2 separate regions of the Homo sapiens genome follow, and region 1 is linked to region 2. Evidence: promoter capture Hi-C in 16 types of primary human blood cells and fetal thymus (Javierre and others, 2016). All regions are on one chromosome and are shown on one strand. The core of a region is centred on a gene start or on the middle of the fragment in contact, and the rest is flanking DNA. Distances in the headings are between cores, read along the strand shown.

The links. The method cuts DNA at HindIII sites, captures the fragments that hold promoters and counts their contacts. A CHiCAGO score of 5 or more calls a contact.
Region 1: a contact is called between a fragment that was not itself captured here and the fragment with the promoter of ADGRA3 in region 2, in 1 of 17 cell types (fetal thymus). The highest score is 5.4, in fetal thymus.

The regions. Positions count from the first base shown.
Region 1 is chr4:22,558,656-22,562,420 of GRCh38, forward strand. No RefSeq gene overlaps it. Among named protein-coding and RNA genes, the nearest start is that of ADGRA3, 44 kb to the left of the region's middle. The HindIII fragment of the contact is 271 bases long and covers 1,352-1,622 here.
Region 2 is chr4:22,513,857-22,517,853 of GRCh38, forward strand. It overlaps ADGRA3 (adhesion G protein-coupled receptor A3), which reads right to left and starts at 2,210. Exons shown (of 19, transcript NM_145290.4): 1 at 1,672-2,210. The coding sequence starts at 1,928. MIR12115 (microRNA 12115) reads left to right here and starts at 1,456; the gene lies at 1,456-1,529. The HindIII fragment of the contact is 8,309 bases long and covers 1-3,997 here.

The sequences.
Region 1 (3,765 bases), core at 237-2,736, 44 kb after region 2:
AGACTGGAATTTATACCAATGACTCTCCTGGGTTTTCAGCTTGGGAACTGCAGATCTTGAAACTTCTCAGCTTCCATAATCATGTCGGCCAATTCACTATAATTAATCTCTTTCTACATGCATCCTGTTGGTTCTGATTCTTTGGATAACCCTGACTTATACAATATAACTTATTTTTTCTTTTGTTATTTATAATTTTGGTGTCATATCTAACAGGCTTTGCATAACCCACAGTCATGAAGATTTATGCCTATATGTTCTTCTAAGTGTTTTATAATTTTAGCTCTTATATTAGGATTATGGTCCTTTTTGGACTAATTTTTGTGTATACTGTGAGAAATGATTCCAACTTTATTCTTTATATGTAGATATCTAGTTTTACCAGCATCATTGATTCATAACACTTCTTACTGCCCATTGAATTGTCTTGGCACCCTTGTCGAAAATCAATTGACCGTAAATATGGGTATTTATTTCTGGACTCTCTATTCTATTCCAAGAACTTATGTGTCTACTGTTATATTACCACACCGTCTTGATGACTATAGCTTTGTAGTAAGTTTGAATTTGAGAAGTGTGAGTGTTAGCATTCAATCCTCCAACGGTAAGTATGATGGTAGCTGTGTTTTTTTGTAGATGCCCTTTAAGTTGAGAAGGTTTCTCTCTATTCCTAGTTTGTGGATACTCTTTATCAAAATGTTGTTGGTTTTGTCAATGCTTTTCCTACCTCTGTGGAGATAATCTTGTCCTTTATTGTATTCATGTGGATGGTGTAGTACGTTAATTAACTTTTGGATGTTTCGTTAACTTTGCATTCTGAGGCAAATCTTGTTTTAAAATTATGAATCAGTGCTCTTTTGACACATAATGCTGAAATATATTAATAATGCCAGATAGCTTGTTATAACGTTGTGGAACCAATTCTATGATGCTTGGATTTTTGAGGTTTTTCAATCTGAAGACTGGATATACCTTAATATTCCAACTGTGAATTGAGATTTACTTTCCTACTTGTGTTCCCATTTTCATTTTCTTTTACTCATGTAGCAGTGAAATTTTCAACTCATATGAAAACATGATGAGAATTATAAGCCCCAAAGTTAAAAATAGAAATCACACAAAAGTTGGCCTACTGCATTAGTTTGCTAAGGCTGCTATAGCAAAGTACCACAAACTGAGTGGCTTAAACAAAAGAAATGTATTGTCTCACATTTCTGGAGGTCAAAAGTCTGAGATCAAGATGCTAACAGGGTAGGTTCCTTCTCAGGGTTGTGAGAAAGAATCTGTTTCATGCCTCTTCCTTATCTGCTGGTGGTTTGCAGGCTATCTTTGGTATTCTTCAGCTTACAGAAGCTTCACTCCATATCTGTCTCCAGCTTCACATGGTGTTTTCTGTGCCCAAATTCTCCTTTTTATGAGGACACCAGAGGATGTTGGATTAGAGCTCACTTTAATGACTTCATTTTAACTTGACTGTCTCCATAAAGACTCTGTCTTCAAATAAGGCCACTTTCTGAGTTCCTCAAGGTTAGGACTTCAACATATGAATTCAACCCAAACAGGTACCCTTTGAGAAGTGAATCAAATTATTTTCTGTAGCTTCCAGGTAAACCCTTGAAAGAAGCTTTAAAATAACAAACTTGAAAATGATATTTCCATATTTACAGTATTTAATTCTTATTAATGAAATAAGGTAAAATACTAATTTTTGCATATTGGAAATTTTTTGTTTGATGCTAGAAACAGTCTGGATAAGAACTAACTGTCACATATTCTAACACCCATTATTCTTTATTATGGTTAGGAAAGATAATTCTACGAAGAAAACGCTTAAAATAATGGAATTCTAGGGGATGTCAGGTGTATTCGCTGTGGTTTGAGTAAGTAAACTTTTGTTGTATTGGGAGAGAAAGAAAGAAAAAGGAAAGGAAAGTGAAAAGGTGGGAGAGACAGAATGAACAAGAGCAGTAGACAAAGTAGAGAAAGAAGAGAAAGAGACAGCAACTCTGATAGATTAATTCTTCACTGGTGATATGACTGTCAGAGACAAATGGTTTAGAATTACCATAGATTTTAAAGTCAGATTCAAACAAAATTCTAATAAGTCTCTGTTCTGCATGGATAATGCTTTTAAGATGATACGATTTTTTTTTTCCATTTTACGTTTTAGGGTGCTGTCAGAAGGATTCAAATCTTTTGCATCTATTTCCACAATTTACATATTCAACTATACTGACATTTACCTAAATGTTTTATCTTCTTCCTCCCATTAAACAAATCATGTTTGAGCTTTGCAAGTAGAAATCCAAGTTTTGCAATGCAAACATAAGCTGAGTAAATACCAAATAATTATTAGACAACTTGTTTGGAAATTTAAAAAACTAGGGCAGTAACTTAATATTCCAATTATGAACAACTACATAACTGAGAGCTTTTTATTGTTCTAATAATGTGTATGTAAACTAATTATATGGGCTAATCTTCTAAATAAGATTAATTGTGATTTATGGAACATTAATTTAAATGGTTGTCCAAAGCCTGATATTCTCGAGTCCATTTTTTAAAATATAACTCTTTTAAGAAATGAAAATACGTTAGACTATGTAAATTTACTTAATTTAAAAATTGTAGTTAGTAGCTTCTTGAAATGACTTTGAAATAATGTATTCCCAAGCTTTGCTTTTAATAGATACATTAAAAGTTGTTTTTATCTTGTCACTCTTAAGCAATGGCATTACCTGGTCATAACAGAAATTATACATTTATTTAAAAGAAAATCTCCATTGAAAATGACATTTTCAGAGGTTCACAAAGATCAGAGAGCTAATATCAGTCTTCAGGGCTTGCACATATTAGGAATGCATAAATGGATAATTTGCAAAACAATGAGTAAATCTAGGATATATACAACATATACATTAAAAATTATAAACAAATTAAGGTTGTTTTTGAAAATATTCCTCATTCCTCACAGATTTTTAAATAGTAAAATTTGAGGCTTCAGGGCAATAACTCAGGGTAATAATAGGTTTATGAATCTTATTATATCTTTTAAGCTTACAATTTGACTTAAATTTTTAGTGCAATAAATCTTGTAGACCATGAAATTAATTTTTCTTTCTTTTCTTTTTTTTTCTTCTTGTATGCACAGCAGAGTGTCTAGTTAGAAATCAGTGCTTCTTGCTGGAGAATGAAAGATGAAGGAAGACATACGATATTCAATATGTATTAGCTGATTATTTTTCATCTGCATAAGAACACAATGTTGTAAATAGAGCAAGGATGCTTTTCATATATTCTGATGGACCCCAAACATTAAGTTTTAGTGCATATTTATTGTATGCTTATAATATTTTCTTTTATATAACAAGAATTAGCTACTCTAGCATTGAGATCTGAATTAGGGATTTTTTGGGGGGCTATTTTTTCCACGAGTTTGGAAATTTGTTTTGCTCTGGCATTATAAACCCAGCTTTCTGAGCTTAGATTTCCATCTCTATATGTTAAAGTCCTGAAGTCCAGTGGAATTGTATTTGGAGTTACAGCCTTTAGAGTGATAATTAAAGTTCAATAATGTCATAAGTCTGGGGCCCTAATGCAATATTACTGATGGCCTTAAAAAGGTCCTAGATATGTGTATACACAGAAAGAAAGCCATGTGAGGACACAGTCAGAAGGTGGTGATCTGCAAGCCAGGGAGAGAGGCCTTAAGAGAAACCAAACCTGCTAAGAGGTTTTTGTTTGTTTGTTTGTTTGTTTTTGAGA
Region 2 (3,997 bases), core at 960-3,459:
AAAAAAAAAAAAAAAAAACTGGATTGAAATGACATTTCATAGTTACTTATATTTTAACCAGTTTCTAAAAATTGTAGAAAAATAGTTTAATTGGTAATATGCTGAAAATCAATTTACCACCATATCCCCTATTTTTTTCTGCAACGCAAAATCAACAATTTACTAGTAGTTGACCTAATCCAGCTGAAATTGTGGACACTTTTAGGTCAGAAAAACTGGACCTAAACATGAGTCAACGTAAATGTCACTCATTGACCCAAAACCTAAATGTTTATAACATAACTGCATGATGACTAATTTTTGCAGAGTAACAAAGAAAATCTCCTCCAACATTGGGATTTTCTCCATTTGGACTGTAATTAAAGTCCCATACCGAAAATTTCCACTTCAAAGAATCTGACTAAGAAATAAATAAATATAACTGCTGCCACCACCACATGGTAACGTGTTAGTAACGGAGTCAAATAAAACAAAAACTCTTTCATCCATCTTCATGCCTCCATAAATAGACACATAGACACAATTTTCATGGTTAAACGTTTCCTAATTCAAAAAATGGAAATGAAGGTAAACAAAAGTGTTAGTAATGAAATGTATACCTGGCCTACCTGTGTATACTCCTGCTGAATTTGGGTTACATTTAAAACCATACTTTAAGTGTTTTCATAGATCATGCTGCGGTCCTTGCATTCATGTTTGTATAGTGGCTGCCTTGATTCTTTTTTTAGGAAACCAACCAAAACAACATAGAGGAACCCCGAGCCAAGGGACTCACATTTCAGTTGAACAAAATACCCATGAGAAACACTTAGACTCAAAACTTTCCAAACCAATTCATCCTTCTGAAAACAAACTCGACAGTCACTGGGGCCAACTGTTCAGCTAGAATTGGCAAAACTACGTTTGCAAAACTGAACCGTGAATCCCAGCACAAGTGAGTTACCAAAATTTTTCCTTCCAGGTGGAAACTCAATCCGAAAATCAAAAATCCCTCGAGTTGGAAGGCTCAATAAACCCACGGTTTTCAGTTCCAATGTTCCTGGCTTTTAAATATAAGCCCTCACAGACACGAAAACGGGACTGCAAGGTACATAAACAGATTGATCTGAAATGTTTCCAGCCCTTAATAACAACTCTATCTTAAAAGGTGCTCTTTAACTGTAATAAAACTAAGATAGCAAAAGGCAAAGGAAGCGTCTTGGGGTTTGGGCTCGCACACAGTCCTTGTGTTTTGCAAACTCTACCACGTAAGTGTAACTTAATTTGCAAAGAAGCAGAAGGACTGGCGCTTGCAATCAAGCATTGTGTTTTCTGGAAACCCAAGCCCAGGATGAATGAGCTTTAACTCTGTTGACTGCGTGTTTACTTGCATCCTCACGTGGCACCGCGCAGCCCAAAAGCGCTGCGCCGGGGACAGCGCGGGGAGCGCCTGAGAACCCGAAAACTTTACTTTGCAAACTAGTGGAGCTGGGAGGCAGCTCGGACGCAGATTCCCTTGCCTTTCCCTGAACTGCACCCATGCCAAGCACACGAGGTCTTTCCTAGCACCGCCCCCTGCCTACAGCTCCACACAAAGGCGCGTGGGTGCCGGCTGGACCCTGCTCCAAAGTTGAGCGGAGAGATAAGAAAGAGCCGAGCGGGAGAGGACCCAGCGTCGCGGGAGATACTCACAGGGTGACCGTGCGGTTGGGCAGAGTATCTGGGGGCAGGACCTGCGCGAGTTCCAGGCTGCTGCACACCACCTTGCCCTCGGCGGCGCCCGCCGCCCTGCCAGCCCCTCGGGGCCGCCCATCGTGCTTGCAGCCGGCGGGCAGCGCCGCGGCGCCGCCGCCGCCGCCGCCTCCCAGCAGCGCGAGCAGCGCTAACAGCGAGAGCGGCAGCAACAGCGGCGGCTGCGCGCGGCCCCGCCGGCGTCCGGGTGGCTCCATGCTGCGGGCCGGGGCCTGCGGGGCGAGCGGCGGCGCACTGGCCTAGCGGGCCGCCCCGGAGCCCGGGCGGGCAGGAGCGCGGCGCGGGCCCAGCGGCGACCGGAGCCTTATGGCGGCCGGAGGACGGGCCTTCCCCGGCGCGGACATGCTCCTTTGTCCGCTGCGGCTGCGCTGGGCCTCTAGGGAGCCGGGGGTCACGGCCGCATGGGTCCCAGCGCCGCTCTACCGCCCGGCGCGAGCACCGCCTCCTCCTCCTCCTCTGCCGCCGCCGCCGCCGCCACTGCCTCCTCCCCTGGCCAGGACCCGCGCGCGGCGGCTCCTCCCCGCCCGCCGCCGGCGGCCGCCCCCGCCCCTTCCCCTCCTCTTTCCCGGCTCTCCTGCTCTCCCCGTGTCTGCAGCTGCCCGGGACCTCGGGGAGGAGGCGCGCGCTCCCGGGACCTGCCGAGCCCGACTCCGACCCGGTGCGCGCCCGGGCCTCGGCCTCCGGGCAGGAGTTGTGGGGAGCCCGCGGGAAGGCAGTAACTCGTAGAGAGAACGGAGGAAAGTTCGAGTCCGAACGGAGGAAAGTTCGAGTCCAAACTCCACCCGCGGTGGCCACTCTCCTGCTCGTTTCCCTTCGCCGCCACCGCGCTCGCACCGCGGGCACAGGACAAAGCAGTCTTGTGCGCTCCTGGAGACTGCCCATGTGGCCCAAGGAGCCTGGCCCGGAGGATGGAGTAGGGACGAGAGTAGGGAATTTCCCTGACCAACCCTATGGGAAAAGTACCCAAAACCAAGTGTTTCGGAAGGAATCGCCTTCTCACCTCATTATGGTAGTCTTATTTGTCCCAAATACACTGGAGCCAGTAAACAGGTTCCTCTTCAATACAGTGAACAATCTGAAGCTGTTTCTGGCCTTCAGCAACAACAGCGATGGTCTCTAAAGGATGCATCTGGACCTCACTAGAAAGGCAGCCTTTTGAAAGAAATTCGACAGGCAAAGATACTTGAGATGTTCACCAGTTCGAGCAATAATGAGCAAACCCTCCAAGAAACCCCAACAGAATTGATTACTCTGACTTCCAGCCTCGCCCTAACATTTGCAAGCCCAGGGCTTACCTACCCTATGTTTAAAATTTTACAAGGACTATATCATGCTAATAAAATATATTCTGTGCTCCTGCCTTGAGAAATTACCTTCATAACAACCTGGAAGGTTTGTAAGCAGGATTCTCAGACACCTTGGAGTTTCTCCCTGAAACATGGCAGGTGGGAAAGAGTCAGATCCAAACCTTTGGCCTGTACACCTTCACCGTCTTTGCTTCCTGTGCCCAGCTATCTTCAAGGACAAGAGGGGATTTTTTGTACCTGTGTGTGAACACCGCAGCCCACAAAACCAAGTTCTGTTCACACTTTCTAACAGCCACCCTCTGTCTGCGTCTGGATCTCAGGTGTGCCTATACCAGTTGTTGGGTCCTTCATTGGGAGGACAGTTCTCAGAAGAAGCTAGCTCAGGGCCAAGAAGTGGCTTTGGTAATACCAGTCAGGGAATTCCAGGGTCCTGGGTCTTGGGGACATAGTGGGTACCCAGGCTTTGGGTGCTGGCCTGGAGATTTTTCACCCCATAAGAAGAGTCAGGTTGGTGTCCTCTAAAATGGAGGGCCTAGAACACGGTTTTTCTTGCTTGGGTCTAAGGACACTACTGCCTCTGGCCCCTACAAAATTTATCTTAGGGACCAATTTGCAGGAATCTGTTTATCTGGCTAGAGCTTTCTCAATGGGAAGTAAATAAATGGTCTCCATTTATCATTTATCAGTGTTGTATTAAATTTGAATAGCAGTTCATTTGACCAACCCAACCATGTCCAGTGCTGTCTAATAATACATTCTGTGATTGTATAGCTGTTCTAGTTCTTTGCTGTCTAATATGGTGGCCAACTGTGGCTACATAGTGTGTGGAATGTAGATAGTGTGCAATAAGAATTAAATTTTTCATTTCATTTTAATTAATTTACATTTGAATTTAAATGCCCAGTGGCTACCCTGTTGGTGTTGAACAACATAAGCCCAGACACTATGATGGGAAGAAA